7 separate regions of the Homo sapiens genome follow, and regions 1, 2, 3, 4, 5 and 6 are each linked to region 7. The links are contacts of gene promoters, found by promoter capture Hi-C in blood cells and fetal thymus (Javierre and others, 2016). All regions are on one chromosome and are shown on one strand. The core of a region is centred on a gene start or on the middle of the fragment in contact, and the rest is flanking DNA. Distances in the headings are between cores, read along the strand shown. Region 1 overlaps AP3M1 (adaptor related protein complex 3 subunit mu 1). Region 2 overlaps ADK (adenosine kinase). Region 3 overlaps ADK (adenosine kinase). Region 4 overlaps ADK (adenosine kinase). Region 5 overlaps ADK (adenosine kinase). Region 6 overlaps ADK (adenosine kinase). Region 7 holds the start of KAT6B (lysine acetyltransferase 6B).

Evidence for each region. Contacts are between HindIII fragments. The CHiCAGO score rates a contact against its expected background, and 5 or more counts as called.
Region 1: a fragment that was not itself captured here is called in contact with the fragment with the promoter of KAT6B in region 7 in 1 of 17 cell types (neutrophils); the score reaches 5.4 in neutrophils.
Region 2: a fragment that was not itself captured here is called in contact with the fragment with the promoter of KAT6B in region 7 in 1 of 17 cell types (total CD4 T cells); the score reaches 5.6 in total CD4 T cells.
Region 3: a fragment that was not itself captured here is called in contact with the fragment with the promoter of KAT6B in region 7 in 1 of 17 cell types (neutrophils); the score reaches 7.4 in neutrophils.
Region 4: a contact is called between a fragment that was not itself captured here and the fragment with the promoter of KAT6B in region 7, in 5 of 17 cell types (fetal thymus, megakaryocytes, total CD4 T cells and 2 more). The highest score is 7.5, in fetal thymus.
Region 5: a contact is called between a fragment that was not itself captured here and the fragment with the promoter of KAT6B in region 7, in 2 of 17 cell types (non-activated CD4 T cells and neutrophils). The highest score is 5.2, in non-activated CD4 T cells.
Region 6: a contact is called between a fragment that was not itself captured here and the fragment with the promoter of KAT6B in region 7, in 5 of 17 cell types (naive CD8 T cells, total CD4 T cells, naive CD4 T cells and 2 more). The highest score is 5.7, in naive CD8 T cells.

The regions. Positions count from the first base shown.
Region 1 is chr10:74,135,486-74,138,595 of GRCh38, reverse strand. It overlaps AP3M1 (adaptor related protein complex 3 subunit mu 1), which reads left to right. Exons shown (of 9, transcript NM_012095.6): 2 at 214-489; 3 at 1,793-1,964. The coding sequence starts at 217. Among named protein-coding and RNA genes, the nearest start is that of AP3M1, 14 kb to the left of the region's middle. The HindIII fragment of the contact is 1,372 bases long and covers 1,153-2,524 here.
Region 2 is chr10:74,304,785-74,307,872 of GRCh38, reverse strand. All of the region lies in intron 3 of ADK (adenosine kinase), which reads right to left. Among named protein-coding and RNA genes, the nearest start is that of ADK, 160 kb to the right of the region's middle. The HindIII fragment of the contact is 4,855 bases long and covers 1-3,088 here.
Region 3 is chr10:74,172,000-74,175,441 of GRCh38, reverse strand. The region is part of intron 1 of ADK (adenosine kinase); the gene reads right to left. Among named protein-coding and RNA genes, the nearest start is that of ADK, 22 kb to the right of the region's middle. The HindIII fragment of the contact is 9,334 bases long and covers 1-3,442 here.
Region 4 is chr10:74,243,485-74,246,608 of GRCh38, reverse strand. The region is part of intron 3 of ADK (adenosine kinase); the gene reads right to left. LOC124902456 (a long non-coding RNA gene) reads right to left here. Exons shown (of 2, transcript XR_007062198.1): 2 at 1-3,124. Among named protein-coding and RNA genes, the nearest start is that of ADK, 94 kb to the right of the region's middle. The HindIII fragment of the contact is 5,243 bases long and covers 1-3,124 here.
Region 5 is chr10:74,197,825-74,201,083 of GRCh38, reverse strand. ADK (adenosine kinase) reads right to left here. Exons shown (of 11, transcript NM_006721.4): 2 at 246-320. Among named protein-coding and RNA genes, the nearest start is that of ADK, 48 kb to the right of the region's middle. The HindIII fragment of the contact is 5,555 bases long and covers 1-3,259 here.
Region 6 is chr10:74,224,382-74,227,469 of GRCh38, reverse strand. It overlaps ADK (adenosine kinase), which reads right to left. Exons shown (of 11, transcript NM_006721.4): 3 at 2,879-2,932. Among named protein-coding and RNA genes, the nearest start is that of ADK, 75 kb to the right of the region's middle. The HindIII fragment of the contact is 3,053 bases long and covers 299-3,088 here.
Region 7 is chr10:74,824,950-74,828,089 of GRCh38, reverse strand. KAT6B (lysine acetyltransferase 6B) reads right to left here and starts at 1,490. Exons shown (of 18, transcript NM_012330.4): 1 at 1,305-1,490. RefSeq lists silencers at 1,025-1,424, 2,115-2,314, 2,425-2,524, 2,635-2,804 and enhancers at 1,640-2,411, 2,412-3,140. The HindIII fragment of the contact is 8,590 bases long and covers 1-3,140 here.

The sequences.
Region 1 (3,110 bases), core at 589-3,088, 690 kb after region 7:
TAAAAGGATGTTGGATTTTGTCAAATGCAATTTCTGCACCTTTTGAAATGATTGTTTTAGTTCTTATTGTATATCATGTTGATTGATTTTTGTATGTTGAACCAGCCTTGCATTCTTAGAATAAATCCCACTTGGTCAAGGTGTATAATCTTTTTGTGTATGTTAAATGATATTTAATGTATAATAAATTTAAACCTTTCTTTGCCCCAACAGAAAATGATCCACAGTCTATTTCTCATAAACTGTTCCGGTGACATATTTCTAGAGAAGCACTGGAAGAGCGTTGTGAGCCAGTCTGTCTGTGATTATTTCTTTGAAGCTCAAGAGAAAGCTGCTGATGTTGAAAATGTACCACCTGTCATTTCAACACCTCACCACTACCTCATCAGTATCTACCGGGATAAGCTCTTCTTTGTATCTGTCATACAGACCGAAGTGCCACCTCTCTTTGTAATTGAGTTCCTACATCGAGTTGCTGACACTTTTCAGGTTGGTTATCTATCATACCTTTCTAAGTTAAATGACCCAAGTTAGCTGAAGGTGAGACATGATTATATTATTTAATTACCCAGGTTTTGATGTTTACTGTCTGTCTCTCTCTGTTTAAGCGTAAATTCATAAGCCCTTTTCTGTGTGGTATACAGTTACACACATGGCTGCTCTATTCACTATTTTTTATATGTATTACAGATTACAGTTGGCTCTCCATATACATGGGTTCTGCATCCATAAAGTCACCCAACCTTACATGGCAAATATTTGAACAAAAAAATCGAACTGAACATGTACAAACTTCTTCTCATTATTACTTGAACAATACAGTATAACAAATAGTTACATAGCATTTACACTGTGTTAGATATTACAAGTAATCTAGAGGTGATTTAAAGTATATAGGAGGATGTGTATAAGTTATGTGCAAATACTATGCCATTTTATGTCAGCGACTTGAGAATTGTGAACTTTGGTATCTACAGGGGATCCTGGAACTAATTCCCACAAATACCAAGGGATGACTGTATATCATCAGGAAACAATAATGCCCTCCGCATACAGTTCTCTCAATGGTCTCAAGATTTTCATTGGTTATGAACTCTTCTATATTTACATTTTATTATTTTGTCTTGCGGAATATACCAAATAATTTAAGCTTATCTATATGTATTTTGGGATAATCAGGGTGAATGAAGTTTATAGCTCAAATTCCAATTTAATGTTTCAATACTTTCTGGTATAATATGTAATAGGAATTAAATTCAACCTAGAAATATCAAGAAAATATTGAGGAATAATATTAGGACTATAGAGGGGTTTTTTTTGTTTGCTTGTTTTGTTTTGTTTTGTTTTGTTTTGTTTGAGACGGAGTCTCACTCTGTTCCCTAGGCTGGAGTGCAGTAGCATGATCTTGGCTCACCGCAACCTCCGCCTCCCGGGTTCAAGCAATCCTCCCGCCTCAGCCTCCCAAGTAGCTGGGACCACAGGTGTGCACCATCACACTCAGCTAATTTTTGTATTTTTAGTAGAGACAGGGTTTCACCATGTTGGCCAGGCTGGTCTTGAATTCCTGACCTCAAGTGATGCATCCGCCTCAGCCTCCCAAATTGCTGGGATTACAGGCATGGGCCACCATGCCCGGACTATAGAGGGTTTTTTCCCCCGCTCTGTTTTATATATGTTCAGCAGCTTAAGCAATGAATTATGCTACTCTAAGTTTATTCTTCAGAACAAAAAGTATTTAGCAGGCCTTTCTTTTTGCCTTCCATTGTGTGATATTTTGTGTGTATTTTGTCAGGACTACTTTGGTGAGTGTTCAGAGGCTGCAATTAAGGATAATGTGGTCATAGTATATGAACTCTTAGAAGAAATGTTAGACAATGGATTTCCACTGGCTACCGAATCTAACATTTTGAAAGAATTGATTAAACCACCAACAATTCTACGCTCTGTTGTCAACTCTATTACAGGTAAGATGAAAACATACTGTGCTAGTAACTGAGCAATTAAAACTTTGTAAACAACTCATTATTGCTCATGATCTGACATATTATTAAGGTAGTACAATTTGGCCATAATTAAAGTTACTGGTAAAGTTAAAATGGATGTACTATATATTTATTTTCATGGAAAGAGGCTAGACCTTAAGTGATAAAGAACTTTTGGTTATTACTCTTTTTTTTTTTCTAAAACACCACAACAATATTATTACCATTATTTAACACTAAATACTAAGACTGAATAAATTGTTCCAGTTATTCCTAAAGAAGCCAGTATATGAGCCCACTTAGAAGAGAATTTAGTCCATTTATAGACTGGCATTTTAATATTTAAAATAGCATTACATAACTGGTATGCTGCTACTCCACAATTACTAGAGAATAGAAAATTTAAGACGCTTAACCACACAGTACTACAATCTCCTCCAAGTCTTTGTTTTTATGCATTCAGAAGATGTATTAAGAAAAAATAGGAAATAGTTTACTTATGAGATCTCATGCATTGTGGGCCTGTACTTGTGTTGTAAGCTTCCAGCTGGGTTTAATTCTTGAGTGTAGCTAGAAATTAGGCACATCCAGATACCAATATTCTTTCGAAAGCATTAAAGTCTTTTAGACAAAGATTCCTATGAAATGTTATATGCCACTCCAACTCCACTGTCAACCATTGTAAACCCCTGTCCAGTGCCTTGACCTAAAAATGAGGTGAGAGAGGCCTATAAGAAAAAGATCATTCAGCAGCTCTTTATTCATCCTTTGTGTAAGGACGAATGTTAGGAGAAATTCAAAGAAAGATAAGATGGTGTGTCTGTACTCCTAAAACTTATACTCTGAATGGGACATTGGAAAAAAAATTAAGTAAATAACTGTATAAGACTTTAAAAAGCAATTCCATACTTCACAGATAAAGTAATAGCATTGGAAAATAAATACACATGATGTAACGTTAAATTGAAAAGTCAGCACAAAACTGAAAAAAATTATTCTTATATATAAATATTCACTCCGACAAAAAAGTATTTACAATGATTATACCCAGCTAAATACAGATTATATTTATTTTTGCTTTATACTTTCTAATTTTCCAAAATAAACATGTATTTTATAGTCAGAGAA
Region 2 (3,088 bases), core at 558-3,057, 520 kb after region 7:
CCCAAGTCCACCGGCAGGTACTTCCAAAACACAAATTATACACTCCACCTCCCTTACTGGTTTGCTTTCAGCTTCTATTTCTACCAGAGTCCATGGTTTATAATGGGCCTGAGTTTCTCTGACCATAGAAATATTCCAGAAACATATGTAATAGATATGGAGAGAGAGTAGTTAAGCAATAACTAGCTAATTATTTCTCTCTAGCAAACTTCAAAAAATGTCACTCATCAGAAATACTCAAACACCTAAAATCTCTTATCAAAACATAATATATGGAACTTCCGATTCTGGGTAGCATATACTGCATCACAGCCAACATTCCTACTGATGACACCTAGGAAGGCCATATAAATCATAAGTCACATTGTTAATGGTACCAAAGAGCTCTGAAGCAACAAGGACAAAGTGGATAAATTTCCGGAGAGGTGAGACCTGTTCACAGGGGCAGGCCAGAACTGGCAGCTTTTTGTTCCACCTGCCAACATTTGCAGCCAGAAGCATGAAGACAGAGAAACAAAATTTGACATTTCCCAAACCTAAAACACACAGCTAGTTTGCCCCAAAACACATTTGCTGAATTCTGAAACTGAATGCTAAGTTAAAGAGGTTAACCAAAATAGTTCCAAAAGCAGAAAGTTCTCTGACTCTAGCTGTGCTTACAAAGACAGAACAAGAAAAGAGCAACTAAAAACATAATAGGCAAGAAATGAAAGCCCTAGAAGGAGTGGAGAATAAAAATAAGGATCCGTGGCACATTTCCACTGGGGTTTGGGGGGAAGGATATACTTATACTGGTTACATGTGGAACCTGAAAATTCACACTTTGTGCTTAGCAGAAGATAATGATAAGGAAGGGGGCAATAGGGGGAAAACAGTAGGGATTTTAGCAATTACATAAGGCTGAAGTAGTAACATTGGAAACTGAAAACCTAAAACAAAAGATCATTTTCCCCTTTGACATAATTGCCAAATTTTGAAGGCAGAAAGAAATTAAGCTAGAAACCTCTGCATTAACCTGGAAACCTCTGAGGTCAGTTTGGTACCCTCATTCTGGTGGACTGTTTCAGAGCGGAGACCACTGGTATCAATTAAAAGTCCTAGAGGTTCAGGCTCTAGGAACAGAAGCAAACAGGCTCAACTGAACTGTCAACACTGAAAAATCAACTTTGACCTAGCTTAACCCTTAATTTTTATTAAGGTAATAAGCTCTCCCCTCACTCCGTATCAGCCTCATACAGAAAAGAGTGAACACTCTGGTAGAAGATACAATCTGAATAATCTACAATTTGCATATAAAGTGTTGGTAAATAATAATAAACAAAGTTATAATAAGAGGTAAAATAATTTGACTAAAACACAAGAAAGAAAAAAGCAAGAGAAGAGTATCTGCCTACTACTTAGACCCAGACATGGTTACAGTCACAGGAAGTATGTGCAGAGCTGAGAAAATAAAGCCCCAGTTCTCTGGCTGGATTACCAAGGCGGAGAGCTCCAGGGAACCACAAACTACTAGGACTCTTCAGACAGCTAGAAAAAGTGAAAAGACTCAGCAAAGAAACAGAAGATAAAGAAGATAAAATAAAAATATTAGAATTTAAAAATTCAATAACTAGAAATTTAAAACTAACTAGATGGGCTTAATAGTAAAATGAAGAAGACTGTTAATCAGTATACTTAAAAATAAATCAATAAAAATTTTCCAATCTGCAGGACAGAAAAAGGATTTTTTTAAAAAATGAAAAAAGACTCAGACCTATAGGACAATACTAAAAGATCTAAATTTGTGCATGAGTAACAGAAGAAAAGAAGTGCGGTGCAGAAAAAAAAAAATTGAAAAAATAATGGCTTGACCAGGCATGGTGGCTCACAACTATAATCTCAGCATTTTGGGAGGCCAAAGCAGGAGGACTGCTTGAACCCACGAGTTTGAAACCAGCCTGGGCAACATAGTGAGACCCTACTTCTACAAAAAAATAAAAATAGCCAGGCATAGTGATGCATGCCTGTAGTCCCAGCTACTCAGGAGGTTGAGGCAGGACGATCACTTCAGTCCAAGAGTTTGATGCTGTAGTGAACTGAGATTGTGCCACTGCACTGCAGCCTGAACCACAAAGCAAGAACCTGCTTCTAAAAAAGGAAAAGGAAAGGAAAGAAAGAAAAAAAAATGGCTTAAAAATTTCCAAATTTGATTAATGACATACTCTTAACAGATTCAAGCTCAGAAACTCCACACAGGATAAGCAAACACAAAATCCACACTCATACACAAGAGAAGAACACAGAGAGTGGAACCAAGGGATATACCAAAATTTAAGTGGAGAAGGTGCCAGCAAACAGGGATGGAAACAGCCACCTGTCAGAAAAAAGAGCTAAGGGAGGGGTGAAGCTGTGGGGGTAAGGGAGGAAGAAAGGAGAGGAGCAAGGAGGGAAGGGGATAGGTCCAACATGGCCAAGTTCCTCACTACAGACATATAAGATCAATTTGATATCAATATATGATTTCCTATAGTAGAGTCATCAGGGTAGGCAACATTCCTCAATGGTTAGAAGCAAACGCTCTGTCAGACGGACCTGGCTTTAATTCTATATTCATCTAATTATATGACATGGGGCAAGTACGGCTGGCCCTCCATATCCGTATGTTCCACATCCATGGATTCAACCAACCACAGATTGAAAATATTTGGAAAAATATGTACTGAACATGTAAAGAGTGTTTTTCCTTGACATTATTCCCTAAACAAGAGAGTATAACAACTACTTACACAGCATTTACATTATATTAGGTATTATAAGTAATCTAGAAATTAAAGTACATGGGAGGATATGCATATGTTATATACAAATACCACAGAATTTTATATCAGGGACTTGAGAATCCTTGGATTTTGGTATCTGAGGAAGTTCCCGGAACCAATCCCCCATGAATACCAAAGGACAACTGTAATTTAAGTTCTCCGAGATTAGGTTTCCTCATTTGTAAAACACAGCATTAAAGACTATTTCTTTTTGTGTTCCACGATATTTAAGCATAGTGCCTGATGAATAATGGGTACACAGAAAAAAAAATTGATGAATGAATGGTTGA
Region 3 (3,442 bases), core at 265-2,764, 650 kb after region 7:
TATATTTTTCCACTAAACACAATTGTATTGTTTTAGTTGGACTACATTTCACTTTTTTTTTTTTTTTGAGCTGGAGTCTTGTTCTGTCGCCCAGGTTGGAGTGCAGTGGTGCGATCTCCAACCTCTGCCTCCTGGGTTCAAGCGATTCTTGTGCCTCAGGCTCCCGAGTAGCTGGGACTACAGGCATGCGCCACCGTACCTGGCTAAATTTTTTTGTATTTTTGGTAGAAACGGAGTTTCACCATGTTGGCCAGGCTGGTCTCAAACTCCTGGCCTCAAGCGATCTGCCCGCCTCAGCCTTCCAGGCGTGAGCCAACACTCCTGGCCTCTTTTTTACCTTTTTTAATGTGGCTACTAGAAAATTTAAAATTACAGGAATCTTGCATTATATTTCTACAGAACAGTGCTGCTCTAGTCTAAGTTAGCTTTACCTATCACTGTCCCTGTGATAGAATAATTAAGTTCACAAAATGAAATTAGTAAGGAAGCCAGTTTATACAAATCTGTTTTCTTGCTAGCCATAAAACACATCAAATATTCCAGAAGATTTCAAGTTTCTTTAGAAAATGCTATTTTTAGCACTGTTCTCTTTAACCTGGGAAATGCCTATCCAGAATGAAGCCATGGTCTATAAAACTGATGTGTTCAGTCCATGAGTAAAAGCTGTTAAAACACTGAGCTATACTTGGCGTGGTTAAGACTTTGACCGAAGGTCCACAAGCAGAATTAGTCAATTGTTCCTCTGGATTAAACAGGATCTGAAGCAAAGCAGCAGCTGGATTAGCAATTCACAGTGGTGGAGACACTGGCTAGAGTTACCCACCTTCTCTTGTGGAAAATGTTGATAGATAATCCACATTTCACACCATCAGTGCTTTTCAAACTTTAACATGCATACAAATCTCGTGGATCTTGTTAAAATGCAGGTTTGGCACTGCAGGTATCAGTGACCAAAATTTTGCATTTCTTTATGTTCCCAGGTCTCACTAATTGCTTCTGGTCTGTGGGCCAGGCTGAGTAGCAAGCCTGTAAAGGTAGCAAAAGGTATCTGGTTTGCAACTTCTGCTTGACTTCCTATTACCTGTATGACTTTAAGCTGGTTCTTTTTTTTTTTTTTTTTTTTTTTTTGAGATGGAGTCTCAGTCTATCACCCAGGCTGGAGTGCAGTAGCATGATCTCGGTTCACTGCAACCTCCGCCCCCATCCCCGGGGTTCAAGCAATTCTCCCACCTCAGCCTCCCGAGTAGCTGGGACTAAAGGCACGCACCACCATGCCTAGCTAATTTTTTTTTCGTGTTTTTAGTAGAGACAAGGTTTCACCGTGTTGGCCAGGCTGGGCTTGAACTCCTGACCTCAAGTGATCCGCCCACCTCAGCCTCCCAAAATGCTGGGAATACAGGCATGAGCCACCACACCCAGCCTTTAAACTGGTTCTTAAACTGTCTGTCCCTCGGTTTACCCATTATATGCTGTTCAGGGCACTGTGAAGATTAAAATTTAATTAACTATAGTAAAGAGTCTAATAGAATCCTTGGCACATGGCATAATTATTACTTTGTTATTATCATAATAGTTAAACTTACATCTCTGGAGGCATGATCCCAAAGCTAACATGAACTTGGCCCTCTGAACAATCAAATGCACTTTTGCTCATGCTTAACATACTTTGGTAACACCTACCTTTGATTTGTAACATTAAAATTTTCAAATTAAAGCCAGGCACAGTGGCTCACGCCTGTAATCCCAGCACTTTGGGAGGCTGAGGCAGGAGGACCACAAGGTCAGGAGTTCGAGACCAGCCTGGCCAATATGGTGAAACCCCATCTTTACTAAAAATACAAGAATTAGTTGGGCGCGGTGGCACACACCTATAGTCCCAGCTACTTGGGAGGCTGAGGCAGGAGAATCACTTGAACCTGGGAGGCAGAGGTTGCAGTGAGCTGAGATTGCTCCACTGCACTCCAGCCTGGGCAACAAGAGCAAGACTCCATCTCAAAAGAAAAAAAAAAAGAAAGAAAAAGAAAAAAAATTTTCAATTTGAAAAAACCTAGCCGGGCGCAGTGGCTCACACCTGTAATCCCAGCACTTTGGGAGGCCAAGGCGGGTGGATCACGAGGTCAGGAGATCGAGACCATCCTGGCTAACACAGTGAAACCCCATCTCTACTAAAAATTAAAAAAAAAATTAGCCGGGCGTGGTGGCGGGTGCCTGTAGTCCCAGCCACTTGGGAGGCTGAGGCAGGAGAATGGTGTGAACCCAAGGTGGAGCTTGCAGTGAGCAGAGATCATGCCACTGCACTCCAGCCTAGGTGACAGAGCAAGACTCCATCTCAAAAAAAAAGAAAAAAAAAAAACTAATTTTGATACCAAAACAGGTAGTCTTAAAACTTTATTTTTTAACAAATATACTAAATTCAGTATAATTAAGGGAAGATATGGGTCTGCAATATTAAAATAGTTAATAAAATTGAAGCCACACCAAAGATATTTTTTAACTCATTTTTGATATTTGCATCTAACCGTTTTTTTTTTTTTTTTGACATGGAGTCCCACTCTGTCACCAAGCTGGAGGGCAGTGGTGCACTCTTGGCTCACTGCAACCTCTGCCTCCCGGGTTCAAGCAATCCCCTAGGCGTGCGCCACCAGGCCTGGCAAATTTTTTGTATTTTAGTAGAGATGGGGTTTCACCATGTTGGCCAGGATGGTCTTGATATCCTGACCTCGTGATCCGCTTTTTTTTTTTTTTTTTTTTTGAGATGGAGTTTCACTCTTGTTGCCCAGGCTGGGGTGCAATGGCGCGATCTCGGCTCACTGCAACCTCTGCCTCCCAGGTTCAAGTAATTCTCCTGCCTCAACCTCCCTAGCAGCTGGGATTATAGGCATGTGCCACCATACCCGGCTGATTTTGTATTTTTAATAAGAGATGGGGTTTCTCCATGTTGGTCAGGCTGGTCTCAAACTCCCAACCTCAGGTGATCCGCCCACCTCGGCCTCCCAAAATGCTGGGATTACAGGTGAGCCACCGCGCCCAGCCAATCAGCTGTCTAGCCAGGTGCAATGGCTCACACCTGTAATCCCAGCACTGAGGGAGACCAAGGCAGGAAGACCACTTGAGCCTAGGGGTTCAAAACCAGCTTGGGCAACATAGGGAGACCACACACCTGTAGTCCGAGCTACCTGGGAGGCTCAGATGGAAGGATGGCTTGAGCCCAAGAGTTCAAGGCTACAGCAAGCTGTGTTTGCGCCGCTGCAATCTAGCCTGAGAGATAGAACAAGACCCTGTCTTAAAAAAAAAAAAAAAAAAAGAAAATCCATGTACTGTAGGAAATGAAAAAAAAGTTTTTTATTAATGGTCAAAAAAATTTTCAAAAAGTTTATTCTCTCAAAATTTAAGTACCAGTCGTGTCAGCAGTTACAAACACAAAAATATTATTTCAAGAAAG
Region 4 (3,124 bases), core at 115-2,614, 580 kb after region 7:
ATGAAGTATTCAATGGGCATGATAATGAAGTTTCCTCTGTTTTAATCCCTAATCTGAAGTAACCTGATATTAACCAGTCTTTCTATTGTCCTGTCTCCCCATCCAGACCTTACAAGAGAATTCACTTTGAAATGACCAATCTGCTTTCTTCAGCCCTTTCTGTCTATAAAACCAACCATCTGCTCAACTCATTAGAACACACACTCTACTTTATGGAATGAAGTATTGCCTGATTCTAGAATCACAATAAAGCTGACTGAGATCTTTAAACTAAATTTGTTGTAACTTTGTCTTTTGACAGAACTGCTAGAGTTTCATATAACTTGTACATTCAATCAGTATGGCATGGTATGCAACCTCTAGAAAACTCCACCTATGCTCATGAGAGAATGAGAATGAAAAGGGTAAACACAGTCTTAGTATTACTTTGAATATAGTTCTGCCCTCACAGAACTTCTGTCAAGGTCTTAAGGACCCCTGACCCCCCCCTCCCACAAGAGGCCCTTGAATCACAATCTGAGAACTCCTGGACCAGACAATCTCTAATACTGATGCAGGCTGACAATAATATTTTGATTTTTTTTAACCTGAATATACACTTATCCTCATCATGACAGAATGCATCATAACTGTGATATGAGATTCCAATGAGATGATCCTTTTAAACCCAACTATAAAAAGTCATTTCAGAAAAGCATAAGATAAAAAACTGTAGAACAGAGACCAGGTGCAGTAGCTTATGCCTGTAATCCCACTTTGGGAGGCTGAGGTGAGTGGATCACCTGAGGTCAGGAGTTCAAGACCAGCCTGACCAATATGGTGAAACCCCATCTCTACTAAAATTACAAAAATTAGCCAGGCGTGATGGTGCATGCCTGTAATCCCAGCTACTAAGAAGGCTGACACAGGAGAATTGCTTGAACCTGGGAGGCAGACATTGCAGTGAGCTGAAATTCTGCCACTGCACTCCACCCTGGGTGACAGAGTAAGACTCTGTCTCAAAAAAAAAAAAAACAAAAACAAAAACTATGGAATGAGGAATACTTGTTGTCACTAATACTAATATCAATACTTGGCATGACAAAACTATTCATTTATATAAAAAATATATAGGGTCATCTACTACATGTAAAGTATTGTGATAAGTGGAATGAGAGAAAGCATGAAGAACTTTATGTTTTTGTAGGAGGGATCTGATTTATATTCCAAAACTATAATCCAAAGTTAAAAAAGACAAATGCTATGAAACAAGTTCAAATAAAGCATTATAGTAGGTCCTAATCTTAAGGGTATGTATGAGGATTATGTTAATATAATTAGTAAAATATTCATTCAAAAACAGTACAGGAATACAATAAAATCTACTATATATATTTACTGGCCTATAGAGAGATGCTTCATTCTGTTACCAATAATTGAACATTAAATTGAAAGTTATACATGTACCCTTCCAGAAGAAAAATTCAAATGCAAGATTTAAAAGCAAGTTTAATCTCTAATTTCACACATGCCAATAAAATCACTGACAATGATGACTTTGGCAAATACTTATAACAAGCATCTACATGACTTTTATGGTTCAATCTCATGACCAGAGAAGAATACAGAGTGATAATAAAATCAGCGGGAAAAAGACTACATTAAAATCCTAGAAACACTTTTAAGAGCTGGCTAAATCTTTCCAGCTTTACTGAAAAGTGTATTTCATTAGCTAACTAACCATTTTGACTCTAATGGATCGTCATTCAATGGCTGCATCTAAGTGAACACTGTACCACATAGTTTGCCCTCTTCCTAATACAAAAATTAATTTAGAAGAGTCATCTCTTTCCTTTGTAAAAATAGTGAATTCAAGCCTAAGTTTCTGGGTAATAATTACAAACACATAAAAAAATCAAAATGTTTCCCTTAATTTGTAAATCACAATGTAACTCAAATGAGATAGTAATATTGTTTACTTAACAATATAAAGAAATCTTGAAACAAATTTTGGTAACACATATCTAATAAATAATTTCATTTTTCATGCATATACAGCTATGAAGTTAATAAAATTTGCATATAGGTCAACTTTTCAAAAAATCTACTTAACATTTAGACTAAATAAAAGGTTATCTGGCATATTAACTCTGGGAATTCATCTTTACCTTTATCAAGATAAACATACAGTACTAAACACAAGTTTAGAATATTTGAATGCTTCCTTCCACTGAGCTCATCTACACCCAAAATACAATGCCCAAATATTCTAGATCTTCCATACACTTTTTTGAAGTTCTATATTCATTTTTCCTACTTATTGTCGCAGATAAAACAGGCGAAATAGCACCATCTGGTGGGCATCACTTTCGTTTTAAAATAATTTTCTAAATTTACCTTATGAATACTTCTTTGAAAAAACTGCATAACAATTCTAAATCATTTATAAAGTACTATAAATAGTGAAGTAGCTTGGTTACCAAGAAAAATATATTTGAATATTGAACCAAGGTTGCAACATTGCTTTGGTTTTTAATTATTGAGAAGTTAAACATTATTGTAACAATGTAATTATTGTAAAGCTGAAATCTCCTCAGAGCTTAACCTTGTGGTGGTATTAGTTTTTTTTTAAGGTGTCGATTTTTAATACAAAAAAATTTACATTCTTTATATACAGGTAATACATCTATACAGTTCAATGGAGAGAATGAAATGTGAACATAATCTTCAAAAAAGATAGTGTGGTCTTTATTTATGTTTAAAAAAAATTTTTTTTGAGACGTAATCTCACTCAGGCTGGAATGCAGTGTGGCGTGATGGCTCACTGCAACCTCTGACTCCTGGGTTCAAGCGATTTCCGTGCCTCAGAGTCCCAAGTAGCTGGGACCACAAGTGTGCACCACCATGCCCAGCTAACTTTTGTATTGTTAGTAGAGACGGGATTTCACCATATTGCCCAGGCTGGTCTCGAACTCCTGGCCTCAACCTCCCAAAGTGCTGGGATTACAGGCAGGAGCCACTGCGCCCAGCCTTAAAATGTGATTTATTTCGATGTGTCTAAATAAGCAACTGAAATTAGTCCTGAGTACTAACAGTGTGCTGAATAATGGTCAAAATATAAATTAGGCCACAATTTTATGAACTA
Region 5 (3,259 bases), core at 179-2,678, 630 kb after region 7:
TTCTCCTTCCAAATAATAAGCAAAAAAGTTTTAAGTAAAAATAGCAATGTATATAAGTTTTCCCAAGGAAAACTGTACTCAGTTATTCAATAGTTAATGATAGCACACTTGCTATCACCAAACTTAAATTTCCTGAGTTTTCCTTTAATTGAAGACATTCGGTGGTAAATTCACTTCTAAAGTTTTCATCCATTCTTCTTCAAATGTAAGTTCCACATAGTGCATATGAAGAGTTTAATACTTACTTATCAAGGAAATCTTTGTCCACTACAGCAGAGATGTCAAGCAGAGGATTTCCCATTCCAAAGAGAATATTTTCTCTAAAAAAACACAAAACACAAGTTAGAAATACTTCTAAAAGTAAGTTGATATGTAAAAGGTACACAAAATAAAAATAACTATCTTCATTTCAACCTGAAAATAAACCTAACACACCAGTTTATTAAACATTTGATTTGCCTATTATACGTAGAACATTTTAGAGGTAGCATAAAGACATTTAGAAAAAAAGATGATTATCAGAGAAAGATGCAAATCAAAACTACAATGAGACACCATCTCACACCAATGAGAATACCTATTTTTTTTTTTTTTTTTTGGACACGGAGTTTCGCTCTTGTCGCCCAGGCCGGAGTGCAATGGTGCAATCTCAGCTCACTGCAACCTCCACCTCCCAGGTTCAAGTGATTCTCCTGCCTCAGCCTCCTGAGTAGCTGGGATTAAAGGTGCCTGCCACCATGCCTGGCTAATTTTTGTATTTTTAGTAGAGATGGGGTTTCACCATGTTGGCCAGGCTGGTCTCGAACTCCTGACCTCAGCACATCCACCTGCCTTAGCCTCCCAAAATGCTGGGATTACAGGTGTGAGCCACTGTGCCCAGCCCAGAATAACTATTACTAAAGAGTCAAAAAAAAAAAAAAAAAAAAACAGATGGTGTCAAGGTTGCAGAGAAAAGGTAATACTTATAAACTGCTGATGGGAATGCAAATTAGGTTAGCCCCTGTGAAAAGAAGTTTAAAGATCTCTCAAAAAACTTAAAATATAATTACCATCCGACCCAGCAATCTCATTATGGGTATATACCCAAAGAAAAATGAATCATTCTAGGCTGGGCACGGTGGTTCACACCTGTAATCCCAGCACTTTGGGAGGCCGAGGTGGGTGGATCATGAGGTCAGCAGATCAAGACCATCCTGACCAACAAGGTGAAACCCCATCTGTATAAAAAATACAAAAATTAGCCAGGTGTAGTGGCGAGCACCTGTAGTCCCAGCTACTCAGGAGGCTGATGCAGGAGAATCACTTGAACCCAGGAGGTGGAGGTTGCAGTGAGTCGAGATCGTGCCACTGCGCTCCAGCCTGGGCGACAGAGCGAGACTCTGCCTAAAAAATAAAAAAAATGAAAAAAAATGAATCATTCTACCAAAAAGGGATATGTTTATTACAGCACTCTTCACAATAGCAAAGACATGGAATCAACTTAGGTGCCCATCAATGGTAGAATGGATAAAGAAAATTCAATACATATACACCATGGAATACTATGCAGCCATAAAAAAAGAACGAAATCATGTCCTTTACAGCAATATGGATGCAGCTGAATTATCCTAAGTGAATTAACATAGAAACAGAAAGCCAAATATCACATGTTTTCACTTATAAGTGGAAGCTAAACACTGGGTACGCAGAGACACAAAGATGTCGGGACAAAAGACACTGGAGATTCCAAAATCAGGGAGGGAGACAGGAAAGCAAGGGCTCAAAAACTACCTATTGGTTACTATGTTCACTACTTAGACGATGGGGATCATTACAAAACCAAACTTCAGTATCATATGATATACCCATGTAACAAACCTGCACATGCACTCCCCTGAATGTTATTAGGGAGCCCGTGGCACATCCTGGAAGAGTACAAGCAAGAGCCCTATCTACCCTTCACAAAAAAATGACTGTGGTAGGGTCTTCACAATGGATATCAGAAGTGATATAATTCTCTTATTATGTATCCAAAAAATTTAAATATATGCTAACTTTTTATAGAACGATTTGTAACTTTTACAAATTTAAATGCACATCTTTTCATCTAAAAATGTCTAGCTAAAACTTTTATTCATGTCTTATGTTTCCTATACTTCTTATATTCATGTCTTCTCATACATATACTTGTATGTTATATATATAAGGATTCATTTCAGATGCCTATAACATGAAATAAAGCAAAACAAAAACAAACAAATCAACAAGAAACGATATAATTTTAAATTATATTTAACAGACTTGGAGGAAGTCTGTTTTCCATAAGAGATCACAGTATGGTTCCAATCCAAATAAAAGAAAGAACTCCACCACAAGTGATGCCTTAAACAGAAGCTCATCTAGCAGCAAGAAATGGGCCAGTGAATACTGTTGGATCAGTCTCAATAAGAGACATTCATCTAGTTTATCCAAAAAGATTTGTTTCTGTGTAATTTTTTATTGGTCTCCAGTTTACTGATGATTCCCCCTCCCTTTCAGTTGCCTCCAAACCAGTTACCATTCTCACCATTTGGCAACTATCAGTAATATCAATGGACTAACATGCCAATATTTCTTTAAGAGAATGAGGTACAGCCTATAATTATAATCTGTAATGATTTTTAGAAGATAAAATTACAGTCTCTTATTAACACCATAGATTGAGCAACTATGGCTGAATATGCAATAAAGAGATATTTGTCCCTTTTCTATTTAAAGAAAGCTGAGTGGAGGAGGGAAAGATAATACACTTACTTATTCACACTTAAATTGCATATGTGATCAAAGCAAGTCTAATAAAAAAGTATTTTAAGTGCTTAGAAGGTGAAGGATCAACAGACAAATACAGTAAAATCTAACCATGATTTCACTGGGACTACTCTGCCTGATTTATATATTCTTATTCAAACAAAAACTCCTAGAACTTGTTATTTAAAAAACAAAACAAAACAAAAAAACAAGGATGAGCAGTGTTATTGGGCTACTTGGTTTTTTATTTTCCTTCACCCTTTTTATCACCGTTTGTAAGCATCCAGTTCAATGTATACAGTCATATAACCACAAAACTATGGAACATTTTCATCACAATAACAACAAAAAAGTATCCTCCTGCCCCCACATCAATCCCTCTACCCTCAATTGGTCCCCTCTCAGTTTTAAGGAATATAATTGTTACACCTCTTTTTAAGAAGTCAAACCTTTGAACATCTACCGCATTCCCAAAAGAGTTTATTATACTCCG
Region 6 (3,088 bases), core at 576-3,075, 600 kb after region 7:
TCAAAGTGTTGGGATTACACATGTGAACCACCATGCCAGGCCACTCTTTATTTATTAATATCAAGATAATTAGAGCTATCACTGTACTCTCTTATTGGTACTCTTATAGAATTAGGGTTAATTTTCAAAGAGCAGGTCAATGTGATGGTGCCAACACATTTTTACAATTTTATAATTAATCAAGCTTTAACAGACTGAAATTAAGAAGTTGTAATAATGTTTTATGAGAATAAAGCATGGAATTACTGATTAGATAAAATTTTGTTTTATATCCATATCTCTTATATTGTTTAAAGCTTAGTCTTGAACACAAAAAGATTTTTTTGTTTTTAATACAGCAGGTGAGTTGTTATACACTCCTTAGCAGACTCTGACTTCCATGACCACCACCCTACCAAGATTTTGGCTATTTGAGTTGCAAAGACACAAATGAGATTATTTATAAACAGCTTTCATAATTCATGAAATTCATTAATTCAATAACTGTTTTAATTTTTTAAAATTAATACTCTGCTTTTATGGTGCCATATTCAACTGAAAGTTTTCTTTGGTATGTAGGTCAAAAACTACAAGGAAGAGAGCCAGCAGCCAAAAATATCAAGACCATCAATAATGACAAATCAAACAAGTGGCAATACTTAGCAATAATAGAACAAATAAACAACAGAATGTTAATCTGCAAAAATGAAAAGGAATTAACTGATATATGCAACAACACTGATGAATTTCAAAAACACAGGGAGTGACAGAAGCCTTATACAAAATAGGACATATATATGACTCAGTTTATAAGAAATTTTAGAACAGGTGAAACTAAAAAAAAAAAACTTTGAAATATAAAACTCTAGTTAATGGTATATGTGTTGAAATATTTAGAGAGAAGCATATTGATGTCTACAATTTACTTCGAAATGCATCCAAAAAACAGATGAAGTAATGCACGAACAGAAGAATAAATAGATAAAACAAGTGCAGTAATATGTTAATGATAAAACCTTGGTGGTAAATATATGGGTGAACACATAACATATGTTTAAAACTTTTCGTAATAAAATGTAGGGGCTGGGCACGGTGGCTCAAGCCTGTGATAATCCCAGCACTTTGGGAGGCTGAGGTGGGTGGATCGCTTGAGGTCAGGAATTCAAGACCAGCCTGGCCAACATGGCGAAACCCCATCTCTACTAAAATATAAAAATTAGCTGGGCATGGTGGCGGGTGCCTGTAATCCCTGCTACTCAGGACGCTGAGGCAGGAGAATCGCTTGAACCCAGGAAGCAGAGGTTGCAGTGAGCCAAGATCATGCCACCACACTCCAGCCTAGGTGACGGAGCAAGAGTCTGTCTCAAAAAAACAAAAAAAAAGGTAAGAAAAAAGTATCAGTTCGCCAAGTTATACCCATAGAGATGAATTATATCTTGGACAGTTAAAAAAACTTTCAAATGAATTAAAACATTAAAATGGGTTACATATTAAATAACATATTCTTTAAAAGCAGATTTCTGGTATTTTTAATATTGGTCATAGTCTAAGGACTAAAGGAACTTTTAAGGCTCACCAACTACTTAATTCCCAAAGCAAAAGAAGCTCTGTTACCAGACCTATAAATAATAACCAACCAATGCTACAGTAACAATCACCGGCCCTCACTGACTATACTAGGAAATAAAGAAAGAGCAAAAAAATTTCTTGACAATATATATATTTGAGAACCCACTATGGAGATTATACTCAAATAAGGATAGGCCAAATATAAAAATACTGATGAAAGGTTAGCATAATAGTGGAATGTGTAAACGGTAAGAACGCATAAGAAAATCCTTTCCCTGAACATTGGTCCTGCCATTTTATAATTAACAATTTATGTTACCTTAAATAGGAGAGAAGAAAATAATTTACAAAAGGTTCAAGACAGTTTTTAAAAAGCAGTTTAAAAGTACTTGGAAAAAAATTATTACTTAATCTCAAGAAGAAAATAATAGTCTTGAAGTCCTCTACGAAAAAAAATTACTGTCCCTATAAATGAGTACAAGTGAAGGTTACATTAAACTAAACCAAGAGCGACCTGAGTTAGATGTGAAAATAAAATGTCTTCAGCCAGGCATAGTGGCTCACACCTGTAATCCCAGCACTTTGGGAGGCCAAGGCAGGCAGATCACCTGAGGTCAGGAGTCTGAGACCAGCCTGGCCAACATGGCAAAACCCCATCTCTACTTAAAATACAAAATTTAGCCAGGCATGGTGGCGGGCACCTGTAATCCCAGCTACCTGGGAGGCTAAGGCAGGGGAATTGCTTGAACCCAGGAATGAGAGGTTGCAATGAGCCGAGATTGCGCCTCCAGCCTGGGCAGCAGAACAAGACTCTGTTTCAAAAAAATAAAAATAAAATAAAGTGTTTTACCTTGTACCAAACAATTGACATTTACTTTTGCATAAACCAGTGACAGAAACAAAATTATATTTGTCTATCATTACCATGAAGGTGGGTGATCCACCGGAGTAAGACCCAAAAATTAAGAGTGACAATTTATTTTTATTTTTTACTTTTTTCTGGTAGAGCAGTCAGAAAGAAAATAGGAACAATTTAATATTTTATCTGGAAAGAGAAAATAGCATGACATATTTCCCAGTAAGACTTTAGTCTAGATGATGGAATACAACACTACATCTTTTAATGTGAATACAGGAGAAATTATGTCCTGTGTAAACTTTATGTAGTGTAAATTATATAGTGTAGGTTATCATAATTGTTAGGATTAAGGTCATAGTGTTAATTATACTTTGTCATTATATAATTTTGAAAATCAGATAATTTACATATACATATATCAAGTTCATAGACAGAGTAAACTATTTACAACCAATGGTTTAATGCACTTACAGTTCCTTGTGTTTGTCTTCAGCCAAGATTTGGTCATTTGGTTTCAGAGAATACCTGTATAACAGAAACGAAAATTACACTCTTCATACACACACAGTGTCAACGTAAGTTAGCTGACCTCTTCAAAACAAGCACTCCAACACTGTTATAGGTCTCTGACTTAATTGATAAAACACCAAGAATGCCCAAGTAGACGGTTTTTTGCTGTTC
Region 7 (3,140 bases), core at 241-2,740:
AGTACTAGCAAATTCAAAGCTATGCAAAATGTCCTATCCCAAGGTATGGTGCATGTCTCTTCCTGGGATACCCTGCTGCCGGACACTCCCTTGAAGACTCCAGATCAAGTTTAACATAATGAATCCAGCGTATCACGGGTCGCCATAGCTCACGTCTGTAATCCCATCAGTCAGGCAGAGGTGGGCAGATCACTTGAGGCCAGGAGTTCGAGACCAGCCTGGGCAACATAGTGAGACCCTTTTCTCATTTTTATAAAAAATAATAAATACAGCCTATCAAACAACTTGTCTCCCAAACTAACACCTTTCTCTGCCCCATCCTCACCCCTGGCACAGTCCACCAAATCACATTCACCGAAAATTACTGTACAGCTCCACCCACTTTCTTCACACCTGCCGCCTTGTCCCACCCCTACCAATCCCTTGTCCCCAGGAGATTTTCTGCCACAGATTTTGCAAGTTCTAAGCAGCCTCTCTCCCCTTCCTTCATATTTAAGTTTGCTCTGCTGTCTTAGCATCATCTTTCAGAAACTCTCCCAAGCACAACCATCCCATCCTTCCACGTTTTTAAAAAATACTTCATACCCCAAAGCTAGCAAACCTCCTTCTTATTCCAACATGCGATCCACCCAGATACCTCTTTCCCATCACTGCAATCGTACCTGCTCCTCACATGCGCCTCAATGCCTCCCCAAACCCCTCAACGCCTCCCCAAACCCAACACTCTGCACCGCTTCAACTCTACTCCACATCCACCACACCCAAACCCACCTACTCTGCGCCCAGACAACTGCAATCTCGCCTTCGGTATCATCTCACCTGCCCTCACACACCCCTCGGTCCGCCTTCCACTTCTCTCAAATTGCATCCCTCCCTAACTCTCCCTCTGCACCTGCTTCTACACCTTCAGCTTCTCCTCCCACCCAACCCTCACTAGTCTTCCTCACACCCTCGCCGGCCCCCCACCGCTCCTACCAGTTCACTCCCACTCAGAAATTCCCTCTCAGCCCCCGCCTTCCGACTCCCCGAACCCCGCCCCCACCCGATCCCGCCCCGCCCCCCTCCGCCCTCGAGCCCCGCCCCCTTGCCCTAGAGCCCTGCCGAGGGGCGGGGCCTGTCCCTCCTCCCCTTTCCCCCGCCCCCTACCGTCACGCTCAGGGGCAGCCTGACCCCGAGCGGCCCCGCGGTGACCCTCGCGCAGAGGCCTGTGGGAGGGGCGTCGCAAGCCCCTGAATCCCCCCCCGTCTGTTCCCCCCTCCCGCCCAGTCTCCTCCCCCTGGGAACGCGCGGGGTGGGTGACAGACCTGGCTGCGCGCCACCGCCACCGCGCCTGCCGGGGGCGCTGCCGCTGCCTGAGAAACTGCGGCTGCCGCCTGGAGGAGGTGCCGTCGCCTCCGCCACCGCTGCCGCCGCCGCCAGGGGTAGGAGCTAAGCCGCCGCCATTTTGTGTCCCCCTGTTGTTGTCGTTGACATGAATCCGACATGACACTGATTACAGCCCAATGGAGTCTCATTAAACCCGAGTCGCGGTCCCGCCCCGCCGCTGCTCCATTGGAGGAGACCAAAGACACTTAAGGCCACCCGTTGGCCTACGGGTCTGTCTGTCACCCACTCACTAACCACTCTGCAGCCCATTGGGGCAGGTTCCTGCCGGTCATCTCGCTTCCACATAAACACACCCCTCGACCCATCATCCCCCCCTCCGGCACCACCCCGGGGGAGGGTCCACTGCCAATACCAATCAACAGACCGCTGGGTCCGCCTCTTCCGGGCACCTATTGGTCCAGCCCTTTTTCTCTCTCCTAGATACCGCGCCACCTCTACTTCCACCTACCCGCCCCCTCCACCTCTAGGAAAGGATTGGGTCTACTCGCAGCAGAGGAGCGTAGCCTTATTGGCTGCAGACGACGCCAATCAGGAGGCCTTTTCCCTCTCCCCTCCCCCACTCAACCCCAAACCCCCTAGCCCGCAGCTAAAGTTTGTGTGAGAGCTGATCGCTGGCGGCGGCCGCAGGATTTAGGGGTGGGCGCGGGCGGGCGCGCGCGGGCGGGCACGCGAAGTTAAAATTCGAGGTTCTCAGTCGCCAGCTCCTTCGGTGGAGTGTGCGGACGGGCGCGCCGCCCGGAGCGTTCCATCCCGCCCCCTCCTCCACCCTCTCTCCCGTCCCGTCCCGTCCCGGGCGACTACTCGCCCGCCCCCTGGCTCGCATCCTTCCCCCCCCAACACACCCCTACCCTGCCAGCCCCAGGCCGGGTGCAGGCAGAACGATGTCGCTGCAGCCTCCTCGCCATCCCATGCCTCGGGGGAGCAAGCCCCTACCCACCGGGCGTGCACCCCCCGGCTCCACACTCGCCCGTGTCTGCAAGCACGTGCACCGCTCGCCGCTGCCTCCGGCCACCCGGGTCCCCGGCTAACCTCGCCTGCAGCCCGGCCAATCGCTCGCTGCCCTTTGTTGCTGCAGCCTGGGTCTCCCCGCTGCCTTCCTCAGCCTCCGCCTCGTCCTTTGCCAGCCGCCCGGGTCCGCAGCGCCGCGCTCCCCCCGCCCGGGACCCACCGCCGCCGCCTCCTTCTCCTCCTCCGCCTCCTCCTCCTCGGCTCCGGGCTGCAGCGCACAGAGCCCGAGGCAGCGCCGCCCAGCCCCGCTCCCCCCGCGCCGCCCGCCAGCCCGCCCGGCCTGGCCGGGGGCGCAGCCCGGACCCCGCCCGCCCCAGTCTCCGCCCCGGGGGTACCTGCCTCCGCCCCGGGGGGCTCCTCTCGCCGCCCTCGGGGGAGGGCGGAGACGCTGGTGTCCGCGGGAGGATGGGGACGCCTGGGCCGTTTGGGGCGGGGAGTGTGCCCGCCAGGGCTGGGACTGAGGTGCGGTCCTCGCCAACGCGTCCCCACTCCCGTCGCTGTGGGCCCCAAACTTCGTCCTTCGCCCAGGCTTTGCGCCTTCGGGCGATCGCGGCAGTTTTGGGGTGGGGGACGCCTCGGGAGCTGTGTCTACCCTGATCGGGAGGAAGAGGGAGCAGTGACATTCAGCGACTGCGGACAGGGCACGGCGGCGGCATCCTTGTGTGGGAGTGGGGATGTCAGACGCGGGCTGGAGGGGGAAGCTGCCCCCCAGGATGCTCTCTCCCTGCCTGCGAGGAGCTGGCGAG